5 separate regions of the Homo sapiens genome follow, and all the other regions are linked to region 1. Evidence: promoter capture Hi-C in 16 types of primary human blood cells and fetal thymus (Javierre and others, 2016). All regions are on one chromosome and are shown on one strand. The core of a region is centred on a gene start or on the middle of the fragment in contact, and the rest is flanking DNA. Distances in the headings are between cores, read along the strand shown. Region 1 holds the start of BCL2 (BCL2 apoptosis regulator). Region 2 has its middle 280 kb from the start of PHLPP1. Region 3 has its middle 300 kb from the start of PHLPP1. Region 4 has its middle 290 kb from the start of BCL2. Region 5 overlaps PHLPP1 (PH domain and leucine rich repeat protein phosphatase 1).

The links. Contacts are between HindIII fragments. The CHiCAGO score rates a contact against its expected background, and 5 or more counts as called.
Region 2: a contact is called between a fragment that was not itself captured here and the fragment with the promoter of BCL2 in region 1, in 13 of 17 cell types (megakaryocytes, M2 macrophages, M1 macrophages and 10 more). The highest score is 9.5, in megakaryocytes.
Region 3: a contact is called between a fragment that was not itself captured here and the fragment with the promoter of BCL2 in region 1, in 16 of 17 cell types (megakaryocytes, total CD8 T cells, total CD4 T cells and 13 more). The highest score is 36.5, in megakaryocytes.
Region 4: a contact is called between a fragment that was not itself captured here and the fragment with the promoter of BCL2 in region 1, in 16 of 17 cell types (activated CD4 T cells, total CD8 T cells, total B cells and 13 more). The highest score is 20.4, in activated CD4 T cells.
Region 5: a fragment that was not itself captured here is called in contact with the fragment with the promoter of BCL2 in region 1 in 1 of 17 cell types (fetal thymus); the score reaches 6.0 in fetal thymus.

Annotation. Positions count from the first base shown.
Region 1 is chr18:63,318,505-63,323,792 of GRCh38, forward strand. BCL2 (BCL2 apoptosis regulator) reads right to left here and starts at 1,265. Exons shown (of 3, transcript NM_000633.3): 1 at 670-1,265; 2 at 1-448. The coding sequence starts at 162. RefSeq lists silencers at 1-126, 1,482-1,671, 1,832-2,041, 2,072-2,141 and an enhancer at 3,033-3,122. The HindIII fragment of the contact is 7,545 bases long and covers 1-4,682 here.
Region 2 is chr18:62,994,756-62,999,907 of GRCh38, forward strand. No RefSeq gene overlaps it. Among named protein-coding and RNA genes, the nearest start is that of PHLPP1, 280 kb to the left of the region's middle. The HindIII fragment of the contact is 4,518 bases long and covers 1-4,210 here.
Region 3 is chr18:63,011,197-63,016,342 of GRCh38, forward strand. No RefSeq gene overlaps it. Among named protein-coding and RNA genes, the nearest start is that of PHLPP1, 300 kb to the left of the region's middle. The HindIII fragment of the contact is 1,069 bases long and covers 1,692-2,760 here.
Region 4 is chr18:63,026,763-63,031,454 of GRCh38, forward strand. No RefSeq gene overlaps it. Among named protein-coding and RNA genes, the nearest start is that of BCL2, 290 kb to the right of the region's middle. The HindIII fragment of the contact is 1,575 bases long and covers 1,919-3,493 here.
Region 5 is chr18:62,977,150-62,982,086 of GRCh38, forward strand. It overlaps PHLPP1 (PH domain and leucine rich repeat protein phosphatase 1), which reads left to right. Exons shown (of 17, transcript NM_194449.4): 17 at 1,113-3,284. The coding sequence ends at 2,282. Among named protein-coding and RNA genes, the nearest start is that of PHLPP1, 260 kb to the left of the region's middle. The HindIII fragment of the contact is 5,760 bases long and covers 1-4,937 here.

The sequences.
Region 1 (5,288 bases), core at 15-2,514:
CCCGGGCTGGGAGGAGAAGATGCCCGGTGCGGGGGCGGCCCCCGGGGGCGCGGCGCCCACATCTCCCGCATCCCACTCGTAGCCCCTCTGCGACAGCTTATAATGGATGTACTTCATCACTATCTCCCGGTTATCGTACCCTGTTCTCCCAGCGTGCGCCATCCTTCCCAGAGGAAAAGCAACGGGGGCCAACGGCACCTCTCGCCCCAGCTCCCACCCCACGGCCCCCAGAGAAAGAAGAGGAGTTATAATCCAGCTATTTTATTGGATGTGCTTTGCATTCTTGGACGAGGGGGTGTCTTCAATCACGCGGAACACTTGATTCTGGTGTTTCCCCCTTGGCATGAGATGCAGGAAATTTTTATTCCAATTCCTTTCGGATCTTTATTTCATGAGGCACGTTATTATTAGTAAGTATTGTTAATATCAGTCTACTTCCTCTGTGATGCTGAAAGGTTAAAGAAAAAACAAACTAATAAGTAAAAAATCAGGTGCGTTTCCCTGTACACACTGAGTGAAAGCAGGGCATACACACTACAAGTAACACGGCTAAAAAGAATGTATTAAGCTGCCTGGAAATTAAATTTACTCGAATGCACTTTAAGTAAAAAATCTCAAAGGTTTCCATTGAAAGTTACATTAAACCAATTTCCTGTGCAGAGAACTTACTTGTATTTTTTAAGTACAGCATGATCCTCTGTCAAGTTTCCTTTTTGTAAAACCAAAACAAATGCATAAGGCAACGATCCCATCAATCTTCAGCACTCTCCAGTTATAGCTGATTTGAAACTTCCCAATGAATCAGGAGTCGCGGGGAGAGGGAGTAAAAATTAGGAGGATTTCCAGATCGATTCCCAGACTTCTGCTTCACAGAAATGTCAATCCGCAGGAATCCCAACCGGAGATCTCAAGAGCTCGAGAAAAAAAAAAGGCAGCGGCGGCGGCAGATGAATTACAATTTTCAGTCCGGTATTCGCAGAAGTCCTGTGATGTTTTCCCCTTCTCGGCAATTTACACGCGCGCACACACGCGCGGGCACAGGCATGAATCTCTATCCACGGGACCGCTTCACGCCTCCCCAGGAGAGAGACAGGGGAGAGGGGACGATGAAGGAGCCGGGGACGGAGGCAGGAATCCTCTTCTGATTAAACTCCGAACAGCAAATGCATTTTCCGAAAAGCTGCTGGATAAATGAAGGCAGGACGCGCCTGGCCCGCCGGTGCCGAGCGCTAGAAGCCCGCGCTGTGTGTGGTGCGGCGAGGGGTGGGGAGAAGGAGGTGGTGGGGGAGGGTTTTATTTTTTCCCTCTTTTCCTAAAAAGGATGACTGCTACGAAGTTCTCCCCCCTGGACCCCCTCTTCCGCTGCACCCCACCGGCGCACCCCGCCTCCGGGCTGCGCACCCTTTCTCCTCCTCCTGGTCCTGCGCGGCGGCGCTGGCTACGGCCGCCTCCCGGAGCTCCCGCCGCGCAGCCCGCTCCGAGCGCTGACGGCCGCCGGCAGGGAGGGCCCGGAGCCCCGGCACCTTCGCTGGCAGCGGCGGCGGCGGCAGCGCGGCGGGGCCACGGAGAGCGGCGGGCGGGAGCGCGGCGGGCGGGCGGGCAGGCGGCGCGGAGGGGCGGGCGCGGGAGGAAGGGGGCGGGAGCGGGGCTGTGGTGCCTGTCCTCTTACTTCATTCTCTGCACAGCCCGACCGGTTTCCTGTGCGTAACGTCACACGGTTCATTCAAAAAAAGAAGAAAGAAAGAGCCCTCCTCTGAGCCACCCGACCGCCCCCTCCGCCCCGCTCCCTGGCCCGGGTTAAAGGCGCCGCGGCAGGCCCGGGAGTGGCGCGTCCCGCCGGGGGCACATGGCGCGCGGGGCCGCGGCCGGGGAGGGCGCGTCCGGGCCGGCCACCCGCCCGCTCCGCTGCGCCCGCGGGGCCCGGCCAGTGGGTGGCGCGGGCGGCACAGGCCTCCCGCGCGGCCGCGGCGCGGTGGGTGTGCGCGGGGCCTTCTGCTCAGGCCTGCGGCAGGCCGCGTGCGGACTTGGTGGTCGCTGGGGTCCGCGACGGGGTGGGGGCTCCCGGGGAACCGCACGCGGCCGGGCCGGGCGGACGACGGAGTGCGGAGGGGGGCGGCTGGCGGGAGGGTGCGCCATGAAAACAAGGGCTGGAAAAGCGCCGGGAACCGCCTGGACCCTTTCTGGCCGTGTGAGTGTGTGTGGAGTGTGTGTGTGTGTGTGTGTGTGTGTGTGTGTCTCGCCTGGACCTTTTCTAGCCGTGTATGTGGGAGTGTGTGTGTCGCCTGGACCCTTTCTAGCCGTGTATGAGAGTGTGTACACGCGCCTACACACACACACGTTGTGTTACCGGCGCTCGGCCGCCGGGGGAAGACCCAGGCCAATGCCGCCCCCCACCGCCCCCAGCAGTGGGACCTCAGCGCTGCCCTGCTGTGAAGACAGGTGACTCTGCACGTTTTAAGCAATGTCTAGGGACGCCCCGAGCGTGGTGTTTACTTTCAAGTAGCTTCCTAGGTGTCCGCGCACTACACACGCACGCGCATCCCCGCCCGTGTCCACCTGAACACCTAGTCCGTGGCCCAGGCCATGCAGAACTCAGCGCTCCAGGGAAGGGGTTTATCAAGGGCTTTACGACAGTTTAAGTCAATGTTTTCCCTCTGTCCCTAACACCTTTTACACTGGTTTAGTGCTACACGATGAGGACTTCCATATAGTAACTTTCAGGCCCACCGTCCTAACGCTGGGGTGGGTGGGCTCCTAAAGGTCTCCACCTTTGCCTCGTAGCCAATCCTAGTTGGCCGCACTTTCTCAAATGAGGTACATAGATACACACATACACATTCACACTCGCAGACGTGTGTACGCGCAAGCAGACAGTTTTAAATTAATCAGCATGAATAGCCCCTAGCAAAAAAGGACAAGAGGACAAACAAGTTGCACGTGTGTATTTTTATCTCCAAGAGTCTTTGACAAAGCACCAAGAAAAGAAAAAGGTCTTCTAGAAGCACAGCGGCTTACTTAATAGGGCTCGAGTGCAAATATATAGGGACACTGGATTATTGGGGTCAAGAAAGATGACAAATGAGTACTACAATGTGTACAAATATGCTATGACTTTTTTTTTTTTTTTGAGACAGAGTCTTGCTCTGTTGTATCTTGGAGGCTGGTGTGCAGTGGTGCGATCTCAGCTCACTGCAACCTCTGCCTCCCAGGCTCAAGCAATTCTGCCTCAGCCTCCTGAGTAGCTGGGATTACACGTGCACGCCACTACGCTCTGCTAATTTTTGTATTTTTAGTAGAGACGGGGTTTCGCCATACTGGCCAGGCTGGTCTCGAACTCCTGACCTCGTTATCCGCCTGCCTCAGCCTCCCAAAGTGCTGGGATTACAGACATGAGCCACTGTGCCCTGCCTGACATCTTTATTTTGTCTCATTCCTACTCTAAAATCAAAACATTCTTTAAAAAGCCAGAAAAGCACACCAAATTATGATTTTTTTAATTTTTACTTAGTTGGCCTTTTTTTTTTTTTTTTAAGAGATGGCTTTTGCTATGTTGCCCAGGCTGGACTCGAACTTCTGGGCTCGAAGGATTCTCCCACCTCAGCCTCATGAATAGCTGGGACTATACGCACTGCCATCTCTCTTGGGTGTTTTTATTTTATTTCTTCATTTATTGTATCCCATCAGCCCAACAAGCCAACTTCTCTCACATAGGAATGGGGGCCTGGGTACAAATTTCTTATCCAGGCAAGAGGGGATGAAAGGAGATCCTCCTTCTTGCCCTTCTGATGGTTGGGACAGAGTCCCTTTTATGCGCGTGGGAGGTGTTTTGGTCTGGATAGACACTGGGTATAGATTGACCTAGAATAAATGTTCTCACATAAATTCATACCAATTGCACAACAGTATGGTTTAGAAATCTTGAAAGCGTATTTTAAAGCCCCAAAATTACCTAAGAGGAATTGAAAGGCTTCAAGCTCCTAATACTCAGCATATGAGTGAGGAAATGATAGGACAAACCTGCAAAAGAAACTGTACTTCTGCAAAGGGGGCAGCCAGAAGGAAACGGATCCCCTACTTCCAGAGAAAGAAAAGCTGACTGATTTTCGTCTTCCTTTGCTCCCACAGAGCCTCACTCTATGGATTTTCCCAGACTGATTCCTTATGTGGCATCTTGGCTATAATCAGTCTTGAGACAGGTCTGTATTGCAGTCTTTGGCTAGGGGTTATATTTTCCCTGGGAATGTTCTAGATACTCTTTCAAATGAAAGAGTGAAACCATTCCTGCGTTCAGATTCCATGTTTATTAGATTCCATTTTAAAGCATAAGGGCAAGTATTCCCAGGAAGTATGTGACATTGACTACTCGTCTTTGGGCAATGCTGAGGTGGGGGAGGGAACACCAGCCTGAGGCAGGAGTAACTGGATTTGAATCCTAGATCTATGCCTGAGACCTTCCAACAACCTTACAAACATATGCACAGTGGACTTTTCACTTTCCAAGATGTTTTCTACTTGTAAGAGCCAATGGATGACCCTTTTGGCAGCTTTACCTGGTTGGATTCTACAAGTAGCGTGGCACCAGGAAGAGAAAAAAAACAAGATGCAGGGAATGGAGATTGTATCAAGAGTCTGAATGGCCTGTGTTTTCTTTCCGTCTTCATTCCCCAGGCCACCAAACAAAAAGCTTTTGATTGCCAGTTTTCGCCACCTGCTGGTTGTTTCACAGCGTTACTCTCTTCATCCATCCAAGAAAGTTCTTTCATCCATCATCAATATAAATATTCTCCAAGTTTATGAAATTCAAAAGGTACATTATTCTAACATGAACATACTAATGTTTAATATAGGTATGTATCGGCCAGGTGTGGTTGCTCATGCCTGTAATCTCAGCACTTTGGGAGGCTGCGGTGGGTGTATTGCTTGAGGCCAAGAGTTTGAGACCAGCCTGCACAACATGACAAAACTCTATCTCCACAAAAAATACAAAAATTAGCGGGGCATGGTGGTGTGTGCCTGTAGTCCCATCTACTCTGAAGGCTGAGATAGGACGATCACTTGAGCCCAGGAGGTGGAGGCTGTAGTGAGCTGTGATCACACCACTGCACTGCAGCCTGGGTGACAGACTGATACCCTGTCTCAAAAAAAAAAAGAAAAGAAAAGAAAAAAAAAATCATGTGTGTGTATCAAATCTTCCCAGCTAGTAAACTTTTTATTGAAAATGTGGGTAGAATGAGACTATTAACTGAGGATATTGATAACTAATAGGTCAGATGGAAGAGTAAACCATG
Region 2 (5,152 bases), core at 702-3,201, 320 kb before region 1:
TTAATTTTTGTCCAGCTTTTTTGCTAAGCACCATTTTAAAATAATTGTGATTATGCTGTATTTTATATCCTTTTTGAAATTTCGTTGGGCATCTTCCCTTTTTCTTAAAAATTCTTAATAAATATTCCCAAATTCACCCAACAGAATTACTATGTATTCAAACGTATTAATAACACATTTATATGGTTTTCAGCTTTTTGCTATTGTAAATAACACTTTATTGAACATTGATAAGGTTTAACTGTGTCCCCACTGAAAATCTCATCTTGATTTGTAATCCCCATAAGCCCCACCTGTCATGGGAGGGACCAGGTGGAGGTAATTGAATCATGGGGCCGGTTTCCCCTGTGCTGTTCTCGTGATAGCGAGTGAGTTCTCACGAGATCTGATGGTTTTATAAGCGTCTGGCCTTTCCCCTGCTGGCGCTCATTCTCGCTTTTGCTGCCCTGGGAAGTGGTGTCTTCTGCCATGATTGTAAGTTTCTTGAGGCTTCCCCAGCCATGTGGAACTGTGAGTCAATTAAACCTGTTTTCTTTATAAATTACCCAGTCTAGGGTATTTCTTCATAGCAGCGTGAGAGCAGACTCACAAACATCTTTGCTATTATCTTTTTTCATTTTTTGAAACAGAGTCTCACTCTGTCACCCAGGCTAGAGTGCAGTGGCACAATCGCAGCTCACTGCAACTTCTGTCTCCGGGGTTCAAGCAATTCTCGTGCCTCAGCCTCCTGAGTAGATGGGATTACAGGTGTGCACCACTATGCCCAGCTAATTTTTGTATTTTTAGTAGAGACAGGGTTTTGCCATATTGGTCAGGCTGGTCTTGAACTCCTGGCCTCAAGTGATCTGCTCCCTCCCCCCGCCCTGGCCTCCCAAAGTGCTGGGATTACAGGCGTGAGCCACCGCACCTGGCCCCCTTTGCTGTTATCTTGATTAGACGTTATGAACAACTGGAGCAAGAGGTAGAGAGCTGTGGCTGTTCCTCTCTGCAGCATAGGAAGAATAGCTTTGGATTTCAGATGAGGGTGGGTGCAGCCCCGGTAACGCTGGTGAAGGGTGGGTGGGCCCAGGGCAGTGGAGCAAGAGTGAAGGAGAGTGCTGAGGTCAAAGCACCTACCACAAAGGGAAGCGTAATGTAGATTTTTTTTCCTTTTGGAAGAAAAAAGAAGTTGAGTGAAGAGAAAATTCTGATGTAGCATTGGATGATTTTTAAAGGGTTAAACAGCTCAGCTTTGAGAAGGAAAATCAAGATTTCATTCTTACCCTTTGCAAATGCTCCTTTAGTGGCTGGTGATGGATAGCAGATTTCTATGACCTGGCTTATGTGCTCTCAAATCTAGTAGCTGCAAGTTCATGGTAAGATGTAAAATGTTAAGATGAGTTCCAGATAGGTGGTACTTTGCCAATGTAGGACGCTGGTGTTCTCCATGAACTCAGCTTGGCATATTTTTTTCCTCAAGCATTTCACAGTCTATTAGAGTAAACGTCATTTTAAAAAATAATAGGAGCCAAGGGTTCTGGAGCAGACAGCTCTGAGTTCAAATCCTGGTGCTGCCCTCATTACTAGGTGACTGCTGTGGTCTGAATCCTTGTGTCCCCCCTAAAATTCGTATGTTGAAACCTAATCACCAATGTAATGGTATTTGGAGGTGGGGAACTTTGGGAGGTGATTAGTCATGACGGATCTGCCCTTATGAATGGGATTAGTGCCCTTATAAAAGAGGCCCAAGGGAACTGCCTTGCCTCTTCCACTGTGTGAGGACACAGGAAAGGTGCCATCTCTGAACCAGAAAAGTGGGACCTCACCAGACACCGAATCTGCTGACGCCCAGCCTCCAGAACGGTGAGCAATAAATTTCTGTTGTTTCTGGGCCATCCAGTATGTTAAGGTACTTTTGTAGTAGCAGCTCCGAGTCAGCGATCTTAGCAGTGTAACCTCCCAGTGCTTTGGTGACTTTATCTGTAAGCTGGGATTCACAGTACACAGCCATCAATGCAGTGAAACACTGTGCCTGATGTCATTAGCAGAGGCCTGGCCTGGGGAAGGGCTTAATTTCAAAGTGTCTCACATGCACAGAAAGGAGAAGAGCCACCCACCTCAGGAACAGAGATGGCTTCACGAAATAGGGGCACGTTCTCCAGTGGTTCTTATGGGATGTTTGGGAAGTGGCCCATGGAGAAGTGGGGTAACGACACCCCCGGCAGGGAACAGGTGTTTCAGGCATGTGAAGTGTGTCCTGACCCCTAACGGCTTCTACTGGATGATTCTGCATTTTTTGACATCTTCCTAGATCACGTGTAAGTGAGAATTGTCCTCCTGCCTCCTTAAAATAATTATTCTTCTAAGAATCAAAAATGATTAGATCTTAAGGAACTTTTTCTAGGCAAACAATAAGAGGAACATATCTTCCTCTATTCTTCTTTGATGTTGAATTTAGTATTGTTTAAGTAGTCTGGCATAAACTGGTAACTGTTGGTGGATTTCAGTGTCTCTTATGTACTTTAAATACCATCTGTCTGGTGCTAGCGCAGTGTCTACTGTCTTTCTGCCTGTGAATATGTAATAGGCATCACAAACACATCCCGTCCAAAACAGAACTCCCGGTTTGCTACTCCAAACTATTTCTCCCATAGTCTTTTTCATCACAAAAATGTCACCATTATCCACTCATTTGCTCTGCCCTAAACTCCAGGGATCATCCTCGATTCCTTTTTCCCTCCCTACTCTGACTTTGCACAGATGATTCATTGACAAGTCTGTTTCTTGCTTTCTTTCTTTCTTTCTTTTTTTTTTTTTTTAAGACAGAGTCTTGCTCTGTCTCCCAGGCTGAAGTGCAGTGGTGTGGTCTTGGCTCACTGCAACCTCTACCTCCCGGGTTCAAGCAATTCTCCTGCCTCAGCCTTGCAAGTAGCTGGGATTACAGGCACCTGCCACCATGCCCAGCTAATTTTTGTGTTTTTAGTAGAGACAGGGTTTCACCATGTTGGCTAGTCTTGTCTCGAACTCATGATCTCGTGATCCGCCTGCCCCGGCCTCCCAAAGTGCTGGGATTATAGACATGAGCCACTGCGCCCAGCCTCTGTGTGTGTGTCTGAGATGGAGTCTCGCTCTGTCACCCAGGCTGGAGTGCAGTGGCGCCATCTCGGCTCACTGCAACCTCTGCCTCCCGGATTCAAGCAGTTCTCCTGCCTCAGCCTCCCAAGTAGCTGGGATTACAGGCATGCACCACCATGCCCGGCTAATTTTGTATTTTTAGTAGAGACAGGGTTTCTCCATGTTGGTCAGGCTGGTCTCGAACTCGTGACCTCAGGTGATTCGCCCACCTCGGCCTCTCAAAGTGCTGGGATTACAGGCGTGAGCCACCACGCCCAGCCTCATTTTTAAAAAGACATATCCCAGCCATCCACTTCTGTCTGTCTCCACAGCTCCTGTAAGCTACCATCACCTCTCATTTGCACTTCTGTAGGAGGGTCCATTATGCACCCACAGCCATCTATTTCCCATCAGAGCCATCATTGTTAATGCACATCATGCCAGATTCCCGAGGGGAGGTCTCCAGTGGCCTTCCATCATTTTAGAATACAACCCAAACTCCTCATCAGGGCCCCCGTGGTCTTATGTGATCTGTCCACCTCCCAGCCATGGGCTTTTGCCCTCTTGCCCTCACTCCACCCTCTGGCCCCAAGATTCTCAGCCTCAGCACCAGGCACATTTCAGTCCAGATCATTCTTTGGTTGGGTGCTGTCCTGTGCATTGTGGGACAGTTAGTGCCATCTCTAGCCTCTACCTACTAGCTGCCACTAGCATCCTCCCACACTGCCGACAGCAACACTGTCTGCAGACATTGCCAGATATCCCCTGGGAGGCAAAGTCACCCCCAGTTACAGTGACTGGTCTAGTTACACCGGCTTCCTTCCTGCGGCGCGAGCCTGGCTGGTCTCCATTTAGACCCAGTGTAGTCGCTCTTCTTCAGTCTGCTGTGCTTCCTCCGAGAGTGTTGTGTCAGCTCCTTCTCTGTTCTGACCTCAGCTCAGATGTTGCCTCCCCACAGGGTAACTGAAGGGTCTTCTTTGACCACCCTGACTTGGAAGGCCCTCCCTTCCAAGTCACCCCACATTACATTACTGCATTTTAATTTCTTCCTGTCCTTCATCAATATCCGAAATGATCTCATTTATCTGCCTGTTCACAATCTCCCCATTAGGTTGGAAGCTTCATGAGAGTAGAAACTTACCTGTCTAAAGTGTCCCTAAAATGACCAACAGTGCCAGGCAGATAGCGGGTGCGTGGGAGACAACAGCTGTGGAGTGGAGACATCAATAACATATTTCTCCTTTACTGAGGTTCCTAGAAGGTTGGGGAGTGGTGGCATGGGGCTGCTTGGGATCATTCCAGGGTGTGATGACCTGAGAAAGTTGTGGGAGTAGGGGGGCTTGTTTTGTTTTTTGTTTTGTCAGCACCTTCTAGGCTCAGCCATCTTCTTCTGATGAGCTAAGTGCCAGGGGTCTCTGGTGAGTGACCCCACAGATCTTACCCAGAGGTGCCACACAGCCTTCTTGGCTCTGATAGAGGGGTCACTTCTGGAATAGCCTAAGCAGAAGTGCAGCAGGCCGAGAATAGCCTGGTCTTGGAGAGGTTTTTGACTAAAAGAGGTCATTGAGTGTTGTGTCTGGTCCAGGAAGCTAATCCAGGAACAGGAAGGTGCTGTACTGGGAGCCAAGGCATGGAGGCCAGAGCCTCCCTCCCTCCCGCAGAGCATGGCGCCCAGCCCGTCCTCCTGACTGCCCCGTGCTCTTTGCCTCCTCCCTCTCCAGGTCTCATGTGATGTGTTTCTGTGCGGCTGCTGGCCCAACCTCTTGACTCTCCTCTCTGCCAAATACCAAGGCCAGCTCTGTCTCCTTTTGACCTCCGAAGCTGTGGATACAGTGAATCACTTTTTCTCCTAATTGTCTCCTCTATTCTTGGCAGACTTCCTTAAAAGAAAAAAATCAATCGCAAGATTAATATTAACCACAAAGGACATGTTTTTCTACTTTTTTTTTTACATCTGATTTTTCAATCTCAATCGATTCAGTTTGTTGCAACTACAATAGATGATGGTTAAATATTAGAGGCAGGAGCTTGGTGGCAAAGGCATATTGATAGAATTTAT
Region 3 (5,146 bases), core at 976-3,475, 310 kb before region 1:
CATCTATTGATGTGATTATATGATTTTCTTTTTTAGGCTGTTAGTGTGATATATTAATTGATTTTCAAATGTTGAACCAGCTTTGCATAACTAGAATAAATCCTACTTAATTGTGGTGTATAATTCTTTTTATACATTGTTGGATTTGATTTGTTAATATTTTGCTGAGAATTATTGCATCTACATTCATGAGAAACATTGGTCTGTAGTTTTCTCTTCTTGTAATATTTGTCTGGCTATAGTATGCTGGTAATGCTGGCCTCAGAATGAATTAGGAAGTGTTCCCTCCGCTTCTATTTTCTGGAAGAGATTGCAAGGAATTGGTGTAATTTCTTCCTTAAATGTTTGGTAGAATTCACCAGCAAATCCGTCTGGGCTTGGTGCTTTTCGTTTTGGAACATCCTTAATTACTGTACAATTTCTTTAATAGATATAGGCCTATTCAGATTATCTGTTTCTCTTTGTATGAGTTTTGGTAGATTGTGTCTTTCACGGAATTGGTCTATTTCATCCAAGTTATCAAATTTGGGGCATAGAGTTGTTTATATTCTTTTATTATTCTGTTAATGTCCATGCTTATGTTATTTTTTGCCATGTAAAAGTTTTTTTTAATATAGTCAAGTTTATAAATGTCTTTCTTTCACTAATTCTGGATTTTGAGACATGTGGCTGCTTCCTGGTAGTAGAGTAACTTACCCATGTTTTCCTCTGGGATTTGTGTGGCTTACTCTGGTATTTATCCTGTAGTATAGTGTGATAAGCAGATTCAATTGTATCTTTTCCCATATAGTTATTCAGTTGTTCAAACATCATTTATTAAAAATTGTTTTCTTTCTTTACTGATTTGAGACATTACCTTCATAGTATGGTATATTTCCTTGTGTAGTTTAGTCTATTTCTGGATTTTTGATTTTATTTAATTGGACTATTCATATGCCAATACAACATTGTTTTAATTATAAGGATTTTACATTATGTTTTAATATCTGGTAACCTCCCCTTTCCAACATACACATATTACTCTTTTTTTCCACGGGATTTTCCTAGGTATTCCTGCCTGATATTTCTTCCATATGATCTTTATAATTAACTTGGCTAGCTCCAGGAAAAAACAAAAACAAACCCCAATACCACATTGATTTTATACATAAATTAGGGAGAGTCAACATTTTTAAGATAGTGAGTCTATTCAAAAAAATACGTGTCTTTTCCTCAAATGTACTTTCATATCTTCAGGAGTATATAATAGTCTTCTCATATGGGTTTTACACATTTCACGTTATGTTTATGTCAAGCTATTTTACTTAAAATACTTTTGACATTATAAATTGATCATTGTTTAAATATATAAAAGCTATTGTTTTCCGGATGCTAAGTTTCTGTTATTTGTAATGAATTCCTTTATTGCTCGTAGTAGTTTTTCCATTAATTTTTTGTTTCCCAGATATATAGTCATGTCATCAACAAACAGAGATACTTTTACCTTTCAGTTTCCAGTTATTATTCCTCTAATTGCTTTCTCTTATTTGATTTATTGGTGGTTATCCCCAATGCAGTATTGAATATGGACATGTGGCCTACCTTGTCTTTCTTCTATTATTATTATTAGTGAGGCTACGTATAGTGTTTCTCCATTAAGTAAAATGTGGTCTTTGGGCTGAATTATATAGAATATATACCTTTTAAAAGTAAGCTTTGTATTGAACATTAACACACATAAGGAACAGTGCACAAATTATTCGTTTGCCAGTAAGAATTTTCATGAAGTTCACACACTTGTGTAGCCCGCACCATTACTATATGTCCAGAAGCCTCCTTCATGTCTCCTCTAGTCACCACCCATACAAGGGACCACTATCCTCCTCACTGCCAACACTACAGACTACTCTTGCCTGTTTTGGACTATATAAATAGGATCATCTTCTTTTCTTATTTGCCTTTCTTTTATTTGACATTTTTTTTTTTTTGTGAGATCCACCCGTATGTAATGTGTTAAGTAGTTTGTGTTTTTCATTGTTGTATAGTATTTCATTCTGTGGATATACAACCATATATTTATCCATTCTACTGTTAATGGACATTTGGGTAATTTCTGCTTTGGGATTTTTATGAATGCCATTGCTATTCACATTCATACTGAATTTCTGTTGGATTGTTACCCAGGAGTGGAATTTCTAGGCCATAAAGCATGCATACTCTCAGCTATAGGAGACATAGATAAACACTATCTGTACCGAGTTATGCTCTCACCAATACATTAGAGTTTTAGTTGCTCCAAAATCTCATCAACCTGTGGTACTCTGTGTTGTGTTTTGTTGCCATGTCTTTTTGTAGTTTAATTTTGATGTTGACCATCTTTGGATGTGTTTATTGGTCATTGGGGTATATTCTCACGTGCGGTCCCTGTTCAAGTCTTTTGACCACTTTTCTGTTGAGTTGTTTTGGTTTTTTTTGTTTTTTATTTTTGAGATGGCGTCTCGCTCTGTTGCCCAGGCTGGAGTGTGGTGGCACGATCTCGGCTCACTGCAACCTCCACCTCCCAGGTTCAAGCGATTCTCCTGCCTCAGCCTCCTGAGTAGCTGGGACTATAGGCATGCACCACCACACCCAGCTAATTTTTCTATTTTTAGTACAGATGGTGTTTCATTGTGTTGGCCAGGATGGTCTCGATCTCTTGAGAGCTGTCTTTTTCTTATTGATTTGCAGGGCATTTTATACATTGTTGAGTGTGTGTATTACACATATCTTCTCTCACTCCAAAGCTTGCCCTTTCATCTTAATGTGATCTTCTGATAAACAAAAATATTTTTATTTCAATTAAGTCTAGTTTACCAATCTGTTTCCTTAAGGTCAGTGCTTTGAGATATTGCCCTATGTTTTCTTCTAGGTGGCTTAGTATTTGATCTTTTCCATTTAGATCTACAACACAGAATTGATTTCTGTGTGTGGTGTGCATTAGGTGTTAAGACATATTTTGTCTGCATAAGGTTAACCAATTGACCCAACATCATTTTTTTAAATGGCCAGGTTTTCCTCATTCTACTGCATTGTCACTACTGTCATCAATTAGATGACCTTGTGTGTAAGCCTGTGTCTAGACTTTCTATGTTGTTCCATTGGTTTATTTGTTCTTATGCCTTTATTACACTGTCTTAATTGCTGTAGTTTTATAACAAGTCCTTTTTAAAAAAAATTGTGGTAGAATGCATATAACAAAATTAACCATTGTAACCATTTTTATGCATACAGTTCAATGTCAGTAAGTGTATTTGCATCATTGGGCAACCATCACCACCCTCCATCTCTAGAACTCTTTTTATCTTTCCAAACTGAAACTCTGTATCCGTTAAACAAACACTCTCCATTATCTCTCCCCTAAGCCTCTGGCAATCACCATCCTACTTTCTGTCTTGATAAGCTTGACTAGTCTAGGTACCTCATATAAGGAGAATCATATGACATTTGTCCTTTAGTGACTGGCATAGTTCAATTACCATAATGTCGTCAAGATTCATCCGTGTGGTAGCAGGTGTCAGAATTTTTTCCCTTCTAAGGCTGGATAATATTTCACTGCATGTGTACACCACATTTTGTCTACAGACACTGGGGTTGCTTCCACCTTTTGCTATTGCAAATAATGCTGGTGTGAACATGGGTGTACAAGTATCTGTTTAAGTCCTTGCTTTCAATGTTGTGGGGTATATACCCAGACATGGAATTATGTAATAAGCTTTGATATCTGATAATGTAACTCCTTTAGCGTTCTTCTTTAAGTAATTTTTAAAAAATTTCCCCATGAATTTTTAGAATCAGCTTGCCAATTTAAAAAAATCTGGCATTTTGATGGGAATTACTTTAAATCTATAAATATATTTTGGAATAATTGACATTTTTATACTTTTGAGGCTTTCATTCCATGAACGTTGCAAATTCCTCTGTTTACTTAGATCTTTAATTTCTTTCAATGATGTTTTGTATTTTCAGGGTAGGGGTCTTAGACATATTTTGTTAGATTTATTCCCAGGTATTTGTATTTGATGTTTTCTTGATGCAGTTGTAAAGGTGTCATTTAAAAAACTCATTTTCTAGTTAAGCTTGCTGGTGCAGAGAAACTCAATAGATCATATATTATGAATTCTTAGCAACTTGGTTCATGGGGCGGCTCTACCTGATCTTCGAGGACACAAGTTTAAATCTCATAATGACTGTAATCTCTGTTAATTTATCTGCTTACTGAATTTTGTGAAGTATGTTAAGTGGCCCAGATAAAGACAGGGTTTGCCTGGTCTGTGCTTCACCAAAAATCACTGGGGTTGGTGTTAGCGGTGGTCACACACTGTGAACAAACGCTGGGTTCATGTCTAGGATCCAATTCTAGTGGGTTATTCCAAACCAATGGTGTTTATGCAGAGAGCACAGGCAGGAGGTGGGACCCAGGAGCCAAGGCACATGGAAGAAAGGGGCTGTTCTTGGCCGGGACAGGAGGCTGGGGCTGGGAATGATGTGAAGGCTGGCTCAGGTCTAATTTGGGAGGTGCTGGTAGTAGAATGCGCCTGGGAAAGGTGTGGACGTTTCATGTTGGGTCAGCTGGGGCCATGGAGCAAGACCTCCCAGGGTGGTGGCCTCTATGAAGGGAAACGTCTACGATGGCCACCGATGAGGAATGAGAGGGAATTGCTTCTAAACTCCTGTGTTCTCTATGTCTAGGACGGTGCCTCTGACTGTACACATATATCCTTTTTCTTTTTCTCGCTCTCTTTTTTTTTTTTTCTTTTTTTGAGATGGAGTCTTGCTCTGTTGCCCAGGCTGGAGTACAGTGGCGTGATCTTGGCTCACTGCAACCTCCGCCTCCCGGGTTCCAGCGATTCTCCTGCCTCAGCCTCCCGAGTAGCTGGGATTACAGGCACATGCCACCACGCCCGGCTACTTTTTGTATTTTCAGTAGAGACGGGGTTTCACCTTGTTGGCCAGGCTGGTCTCAAACTCCTGACCTCAAGTGATCCCCCGACTTGGCCTCCCAAAGTGCTGGGATTACAGGTGTGAGCCACTGCGCCTGGCCCTGCACGCATATTTTCTGGAAAAAGTACAGAAGATTTATTTCATGTTAAGCAAGGGGAATTTTTAGGTTGCATAATTTTAAGAAAGT
Region 4 (4,692 bases), core at 1,456-3,955, 290 kb before region 1:
TTTATAAGTCACCTAGTGTATGGTATTTTCTTACAGCAGCCAGGGATGGACTAAGACAACTGCCAGCCTTTCTCTTGTATGTATGAATAAACACTTTTCAAAATAATGACAGGGAATTATTCTGAAATATTATTTCCTAACCTGCTTTTCACTTCACAGATGGTAATAATTTTCTTTTCTGTTTTTTTGTTTGTTTGTTTGTTTTTGTTTTCTTTTTTTTTTTGAGATGGAGTCTAGCTCTGTCACCCAGGCTGGAATTCAGTGGCGTGATCTTGGCTCACTGCAACCTCCGCCTCCCGGGTTCAAGTGATTCTCCTGCCTCAGCCTCCCAAGTTACTGAGATTACAGACGTCCACCACCACATCCAGGTAATTATTGTATTTTTAATAGAGACTGGGTTTCACTATGTTGGCCAGGCTGGTCTAGAACTTCTGACCTCAGGTGACCCACCTGCATCGGCTTCCCAAAGTGCTGGGATTACAGGCGTGAACCACCACGCCCAGCCACGATAATAATTTTCCATGTGAAAAATGGTCTTTTCAGAATCACTGCTGCCTCTTTTTTTGGGGACCGAAAATCTGTGGAGACAGTTTTAGTTGTCATAATAATGAGAGGTGGGAGTGGGATGTGGTGGCAACGTGCAAATGACATTTAGAAGACAAAGGAGTGAAAAATTAGATGTCCTCCAAAACTCGAGTCCAGCCCCAGTTTTGAACATCCTAATGGACATTCATACAGGTAAAAAAAAAATTTATAATGATTTGAAACCCAAACCTAACTTCATTTTGCATATAAGCACGAAGCTTTTTGGTGTGGTTTTAGTATACACTAAATTTTCCAGCAATGCAACTAATAGTGTGTTTAGACCTTTTACTGTGAAATGTTGACTCAACCACCTGGAGAATCTCGTCAGCAATGGCAATGCCAGTGACAGCAGCTCAATCAACATCACAACATCACACCACCTGTATATAGGTGTGTGGTGGTCACTGTATCTGTGATGACTATACATAGAGGTGAATATACTTATTTAGCCTTCTATTTCTAAACATCATATAAATAAAGTGTCTACATTTAGTGGAACATTGTCTTATTCCTACTAAATCTCAACTTATTTAAAAGTAGATTCAAGCATCTGACTTCTTCATTGTATCTTCAAATGTAGTTGTGTCTAAAAATTGCAAATTGACACTGTGATCTCTTGGCAATGCACACTTCTTCTAAGCTCTGCCTTCTGCCTCTGGGGCTGGAAACCTCCAAGTTCCAGCTCCTAGATTCCTTCCCATCTTGCCTCACTTGAGGGTCTGCCAGTAGGAGACACTGGCTTCTGGTTCATCCTGGATCTTATGCTATGAAGGATGGCAGCCACAGCCTGGCTACCAGCGACTCTGAGTAACACCATTTCTGTTTTTGCTTCTCCAGTTCTCGGGGGTAGTCATTCCCTATAGTTACTAATCCTGGAAAACCCTACCTTCATCGATTTGCTCTTCCAGCCTTTCCAAAATCTTTGTAACCAATTCTCTACATTAACTCTCCTCTGAAATACCTACAGTAGTTGTTTTTGTGACTGGACATATATGGATAAAAAATGCATAGGTTTTATTCTATTTGAATTGTTTCTATTATGGTCAGGCCATTGTGTACATTCTTTTAAAAAATTATGCACCTGAGTAAATATATTATCTGTGAATTTAATTTCAGGGTAACAAAAGAGGGGTATTACAAAATATTTATTACTATTATAAAGGGGTGTTGAGCTTGACAGAGTTGAAAACCACTCATCTATGTCATCCTTTTTAGTGACTTCCTTTATCTTCTTACACCTTCCCCTGTTGTTTGACATTCAGGTTACTGCTCACATGTCATCCCCCCATTTATACCGTATTAGTTACTTGTTGCCTTCCTCCACCAAAAGATAAGCTTTATGAGGGCAGCCATTTAATCTGTTGCGTTCACCACTAGACTACTAGTATCTGAATATGTTAGCTACTCAGTAGATACCAAATCAGTACTTGCATATGTTAATTACTCAATAAATATTTTAAAAATAGATGGATGAATCTTTCAGATCTTGGCTTTGACATTATTTCTTCCTGTAAGTCTTTCCTGACATGCCTTGGTCAGATGAAATGTCCATCCTTGTGAATAAAATGATAGCAGAATTGTGGATGAGAACCAAATAACAAGCAAACAGTAACACATAGTATCCAATCAGACCATAGAGAGGTTATTAGAGTCCAAACAAATGATGAAGGAAATTGGTTACAATATGGGTAGGGGCACATCTACCCAACTCAGGTAATAAAGAGGTGAAAAGGGTTTGATTAAAAAGTGGATAAAATAGAAACACGATGCACTGGTTGAAGACTAAATCCCAGTTGAAAAGCGTGGCTTTGGGTTTCTGGTTGATGGAATTGGTTCAGTATATTCACCCATGCTTTGGTAGGGTCAGTCATGCCCACATCCCACTCAATCTCTGACCAATAAGCAATTTCACTGTAGTCCTGAAACTTCATCCCAGTCTTATCAGTGCTGTTCCAAGTGATAAGAATCTGTCCTCTCTACTTAAGTGGCTTTACAGTTCTAAGATTATATTAATATAAGCAGAGAAATGGTGAAGGAAAACAAACCTGTGGTATTAATATTTTGTGTTAAGTTTATTAATAAGTTTTATAATCAGGATAATCTACATAATAAATAAGGGGTAGAAACAATATACATTTGAAGCTCTGATATATCAATTTTGGGATTTCAATTTGAAATACATCATTGGTATTAGACCTGCAATTTTAATTCATAAAGTATAAGATAATTTGATTAAATTTTAAAACAGTATTTGAATGTTTAAGAAAAACTGACCTGAAATAAGTATGGTGTGTGTGCCTGTAATCGCATCTACTCAGCAGTCTGAGGCAGGAGGATCGCTCGAGCCCAGGAGTTTGAGGTCAGCCTGGGAAACATAGCAAGACCCTGTCTATAGAAAAAATAAAAAAAAGAAAAAGAAAATAAAAACTGGCTCACTATGTTTATAAGTTTGATTTGCAAGAGTTTCTTAAGAGTTTAGAAGATTTTGTTTTGTAAATCTGTCCAGTCAGGCATTAAAAATGTTTAAAAGAACATAATTATGTTTGTAAGTTGTATTTAATTGTTTTTTCTTTTCTTTTTTTTTTTTTTTTTGAGACAGAGTCTCGCCCTGTTGCCCAGGCTGGAGTGCAGTGGCACAATCTCAGCTCACTGCAAGCTCCGCACGCTGGGTTCACGCCATTTTCCTGCCTCAGCTTCCTGAGTAGCTGGGAATATAGGCGCCCGCCACTACGCCCGGCTAATTTTTTGTATATTTAGTAGAGACAGGGTTTCACCGTGTTAGCCAGGATTGTCTCGATCTCCTGATCTCGTGATCCACCCACCTCGACCTCCCAAAGTGCTGGGATTACAGGCGTGAGCCACCGCGCCCGGCCGGCGTATTTAATTGTTTAGAAGACTTTAACTATTAAGCTTAAGTTAATTTAAGATTAATCAAAGAACAAGTGAATATCATATTTCTTATTTTTGGACAAAAATTACTAGATTTATAAGTAGGATACAATTTGTAAATTAAACACAAGGGTGTAAGAATATTTACGTTTAAAATTTTACTATTAATAAATTGGTTATTAATTTTAATAATTATAATAAATAGGCCTGTTTACAAACTCTCTGCAATATAAAAATAATTCAGAAGATACTCCCCAAAGAGCATTAGAATTTTTTGTTTAATTTTCCATCTCCCCAGTTTGTCTCTAAATTCTTTAATTTTCCTGGAAAAATCAACTCTCTTTGTGTCAAACATATTTTTATGTTCTTTGTGTAATTGATCCTCTCCATTAATACACAATAATCCAGTTTTTACCACTAATATGGTTTGGCTGTGTCCCCACCCAAATCTCATCTTGAACTGTAGTTCCTCCAGTCCCATGTCATGGGAAGTACCCACTGGGAGATAATTGAATAATGGGGTGGTTACGCTCACGCTGTTCTTGTGATAGTGAGTTCTCATGAGATCTGATGTTTTTATAAGAGGCTTTTCCCCCTTTGCTTGGCGCTTCTCCTTCCTGCTACCATGTGAAGAAGGATATGTTTGTCTCCCCTTCCACTATGATTGTAAGTTTCCTGTGGCCTCCCCAGTCCTGCAGAACTGTGAGTCAATTAAACCTCTTCCTTTTATCAATTACCCAGTCTCAGGCAGTTCTTTACAGCATGTGAAAGTGGATTAATACACCTACTTATTGTATCCTTGGTCTTCTATGATCCTGAATTAACAATAACATTGCCCTAAGCCTGCAACAATAAGATGTATATAGGCAGTCTTCACAGCTTCCCTTAAATTCTGTTTTCCTTCAAGAATACCTGGTAACTTCTTCTAGCAATATGGCAGTCAGGTACACAATGACTGTCCTCACTGGAACAACTAAAATGGTTTTTAAAAAATTTTAAACCAAATTTTATAAATGATTATAAGTGAGGAATACACCAAGTCTAAAAATAAAATAAAATCAAGACCTCTGGGAGGTTAATAAGTTCCAAAGCTAGCTTTTCCTCTAAGGGTTTCCACCAGATCTTAAGATTTCACTTTGCAAGTACCTTGGGTGTAGGGGGCTGGAGATAAAGCCCAGATTCTGCCCAAGGAGGGAATATAATAGGAGGCCCCCATAT
Region 5 (4,937 bases), core at 1,445-3,944, 340 kb before region 1:
ACCTGCTTATAAGTGTGGTGTGGCAAAGTTGTGTGAGAAGCTGGGAAAGACATCCCTAGGACAAGTAAACACCTTGCCAAATCCCAAATAAAGGGAAGTGGTAGGACTGGAAAGGAAATGGATATTCTGTGGAAGAAACACTTTGTCATCCCAGACAGGGATTTGTCATAATGAAGCCTTTCCTGGAAAGAAGTGTTAAAACTAGGGCATGTAGAGGTATGTCATGGACCTGAGAATCTCAAAATTTGAAGAATAAAGAACCAAGCAGGTACACGTGGCAAAAAAAAAAAAAAAAAAAAAAAAACCCAGGTCTTTTTATTGGCAAGTGGTCTGGCACTTTGGTAATTGATTTAAATAGCATGCACACAGCTGAACTAAAGCCAGCAGATCTTGCCTTCTCCATTGGTCAACAGGAAATCAAGTTCAAGGAAGTTGTAAGAATTGGCATTTCTTCTTTAGCATCTGTTCTCCTGACATGAGCATTCTTACCCACCTAGTCAAACCAAGGTTTTCTCCACCGCTTAAGTACTTTCAAGTCCTCTCTGGACCTTTAGACACTACTGCCTCTTGTGATCATGGAGAGCAATGGAAGATTTAGGAGCATTGTCTTGATATATGCCTGCGTCATGTGTCTTTGCTCAGGACTGGCTTCTATCAGAAAGTCTCTTGCTACCTCAGAGTCTTCCTACACCCAGCCCGTCTGAGGGCCGATCCTTGATCACCATGTTCACCAAGGGAGGGAAGATGTAAACCCATGTTTACAGGAGGAGCTAGCCAGCTATGCTTGCTGTGTAAGGCTAGATGATGGCTTGCTTTAGATAAACAGCAGGACTTGTGACCTAGTGTGAATGGGGTCCCAGTAACACACATAACCGAAATCTTTTCCTTTTGTCCCTACTGCTCCTTACCTGCCCAGGCCTACTACCTGGGGTTTCTGATGACAGGTGCACATTAACTACTCACTACAGAGTGAGCCCTTCTTTCCTCTGTGGGCCACACAGCACTTCTCTGTGGTCCTACAGTCGAGACAGTCGAGGGACCCGCAGGGAACCTGCACAGTTGCCGCAGGTGCTCTGTATTAACTGTCTGTCTGCAAACCCTTGTTCTTCCAGGATGGCAAGGTGAACGGAGTGACTGAGTCCACGCGCATCCTGGGCTACACCTTCCTCCATCCCAGTGTGGTGCCTCGCCCCCACGTGCAGTCCGTGCTCCTGACTCCCCAGGATGAGTTCTTCATCCTAGGCAGTAAGGGGTTGTGGGACAGCCTGTCCGTCGAGGAGGCCGTGGAAGCCGTGCGCAACGTGCCCGATGCCCTGGCTGCTGCCAAGAAGCTGTGTACCCTGGCCCAGAGCTACGGCTGCCACGACAGCATCAGCGCTGTGGTGGTGCAGCTCAGTGTCACTGAGGACAGCTTCTGCTGCTGCGAGCTCAGCGCCGGTGGGGCTGTGCCACCACCCAGTCCTGGCATCTTTCCTCCCTCAGTGAACATGGTGATCAAGGATCGGCCCTCAGATGGGCTGGGCGTGCCGTCCTCCAGCAGCGGCATGGCTTCCGAGATTAGCAGTGAGCTCTCCACTTCTGAGATGAGCAGCGAGGTGGGGTCAACAGCCTCCGATGAGCCCCCGCCCGGAGCCCTAAGCGAGAACAGCCCTGCCTACCCCAGTGAGCAGCGCTGCATGCTCCACCCCATCTGTCTGTCCAACTCCTTCCAGCGCCAGCTATCCAGCGCCACGTTCTCTAGCGCCTTCTCCGACAACGGCCTTGACAGTGACGATGAGGAGCCCATCGAGGGCGTCTTCACCAACGGCAGCCGGGTGGAGGTGGAGGTGGACATCCACTGCAGCCGGGCCAAGGAGAAGGAGAAACAGCAGCACCTGCTTCAGGTGCCAGCAGAGGCCAGTGATGAGGGCATTGTCATCAGCGCCAACGAGGATGAGCCAGGTCTGCCCAGGAAGGCAGACTTCTCTGCCGTTGGGACCATTGGGCGCCGGAGGGCCAATGGCTCTGTTGCGCCCCAGGAAAGGAGCCACAATGTGATAGAGGTGGCTACAGACGCACCTCTTCGAAAGCCTGGAGGCTATTTTGCTGCCCCGGCTCAGCCGGATCCTGATGATCAGTTTATCATACCCCCGGAGCTGGAAGAGGAGGTCAAAGAAATCATGAAGCATCACCAGGAGCAACAGCAGCAGCAGCAGCCGCCACCACCCCCTCAGCTCCAGCCGCAGCTGCCGCGGCACTACCAGCTGGACCAGCTGCCAGATTATTACGACACGCCACTATGACCCAGCCGAGCTGTTTAACAAATAAACTAACCACAAAAGACTGAGTTGCAAGAGTCTCCCAGGCTCACATTAAACCAGGGGTTTTACTCCACATCCTTCCCCCAGACACTGTTCCCAACCTGTCATCGCAGCTAATCTGTAGGTTCTCTTTCTTTGGGTTATTTTTTTAAGTAATCACCACTTTCTTCTAGTGATGCTTTACCAATATGATTTACATTTGTTAACTTCTCCCCCTAACATATCAGATATGTAAAGACAAAGAACAAAAGGTTTAATATATTACAGAGAAACAGTTAATGATAATGTAATATTTTTTAAAATGGCTTTTTGTTGTTTGTTTGGAAGGCAGGGCAGGCTGCCGTTGCTAAATGATTTAATAATATTGTAATTCTGTATTTCTTTGGGGGGAAAAGGCTTTTGTTTTGTTTTGTTTTGTTTTGTTTTGTTTTTGTCTTGAAAATAATAGACATTTGTAGAATATGGAGACTAACTCCTAGGAGTTGCTTTACTCTGTCAGGTGACTTAAGTCACTGGGATTCACTAATTTTCTCTGAGAGAACAGCTGATTGAGAATTTCCATTGTAAATAGCTCAGTGTTGTATAGTGAGGCTTACGATGTTTTGTAGTCTTGGCGTAAGGACACAGCCCAAGTAACTGACGTTTCCCCTCCCCCTCCCCTCTGAGGAGCCTGCCTGCCTCACAACTCACCCTCACTTCACTGAATGAGGAGGCTGAGCAGCTGCAGTGTTTCTGTCCGGAGGAAATGGATCTTAGGCCACTGGACAAGAACCTGCACCCAAGGGCCCTGAACCCATTTTCCTCCCCTGTCCCAGCCTTCCCACTTTGACAGACACTTTTAACTGTGTTCCTTACTGCTGCCACAATCAGCATGGTTGTATAGTGCCCCATTAGGCCATTTACATACCCAGAGTTATACTCAAGCAGAATGCACAAATGGACATGTCATAATTTTTGTTACAATAAATATGAAATTTACAAGTATTTACAAGTATCTGCTTTTGTCTCAGCAGCCAGATGTTTCTTGGAGACAGTCACACTAGCTTGCGTTTAGAAAGAATGGATGGAATATTGGGGTTATCAGATATTTCTGATTTTTTTTTTAAGAGAAAAACATCCAGTAAGTTAACCTACATTGAATGAAATGTGAAATTAACCAAATGGTAAGCAGTATAATTAGCTGATCTTACAGCTTTTCTTTTCTTTTCTTTTCTTTTTTTTTTTTTTTTGAAATGGAGTCTCGCTCTGTCTCCCAGGCTGGAGTGCAGTGGTGTGTTCTCTGCCCACTGCAACCTCCGCCTCCCGGGTTCAAGTGATTCTCCTGCCTCAGCCTCTGAATAGCTGGCATTACAGGCACCCGCCACCATGCCCAGCCAATTTTTGTATTTTTAGTAAAGATGGGGTTTCACCATGTTGGCCAGGCTGGTCTCATACTCCTAACCTCAAGTGATCTGCCCACCTCAGCCTCCCAAAGTGCTAGGATTACAGGTGTGAGCCACTGTGCCAGGCCTGATCTTACAGCTTTTCTATTTCTTCTTATGACTTAGGGTAAGATGTTTGGGTACTTCTTAGGGAAGATGTGAGAAGGGGGATAGACAGAGGTTGCATAGATAGGGGAGATCCCTGGACAACTTTACTCTCACGAAGCGAAGTTTTCAGTTTTCCTGGGGGGCCTGTAGCTCACATAAGCAGGTTAACCTGCCTCTTACTTGGACAGGGTCAATCAAGCTGGTTGGCTTGCCTTCCACCACCAGCAGGAATCGTGTAGGTGCAGCGGTGTGTACTTAAGAAAGCCAGTATTCCCAGCTACTAGTCAACTGCATTTACAGACAGGGACCTCCGCCTTCACCTCGCCCCCACCCTACACGTGTGAACCTTGTGTGGAAGATACTGTTGGTCTTCATCTCACATGGACCACCTTCCTATGTAGACCTGGCTTCCTTCTTTAGGTCTGCCCTTGGGTGGGACCTGGCTAATTCAGTGACAGGGCAGTTCTTATTTCTTAACTAGTAGACTTGGTGGTGGGCTCTGTGTCCCCCTCTAGGAGGCCGCTGGGTGGACTTTGTTTTCGTAATGGCCGTACTTCATTTCCACATCAGGCTACTTGCACACAGTGCTCTTTGGAAACCACTAAAGCCATGGAAGAGAATTGCCTCATCTCGGCCCAGTGAGAGACCCAGGGACCAAGGAAGCTGACTCCCCAGTACAGGCGGAGCGCTCTGGCTGAGACTGGAAGCTAAACCACCTTGGGACCCCTGCCCCGGTTCCACTTCCCAGCCCCTTACCTTGTCCCTCGGGCTGCCCCACTGGGTTGAAGCAGATGTGGACAACTCCAAGCTCTCACACCGACGCCTTAGTTCCTGCAGGTCTGGGCTGCTTCTCTGACTTCCTCAGTTCTTAAACCCCCTCTGGGCAGGGTTCACCTGTCCCCGGGGGTGGAGCACACCCCGGCCTTGTATGTGGATCTCTTCCACCGCAGCTCACTTCCAGAGTGGTCAGAACTGGCTGAGCGTGGTCCACGGAGGCAGCAATCGCTTCCAGATTCTAAAATGGGCCCCACAGCAACTCTGTGCCAGGGGCAGCCACTGGGCCCCACAAGCTCTGATGCAGGGACACCTCATTTCCTAACTTCTGTGT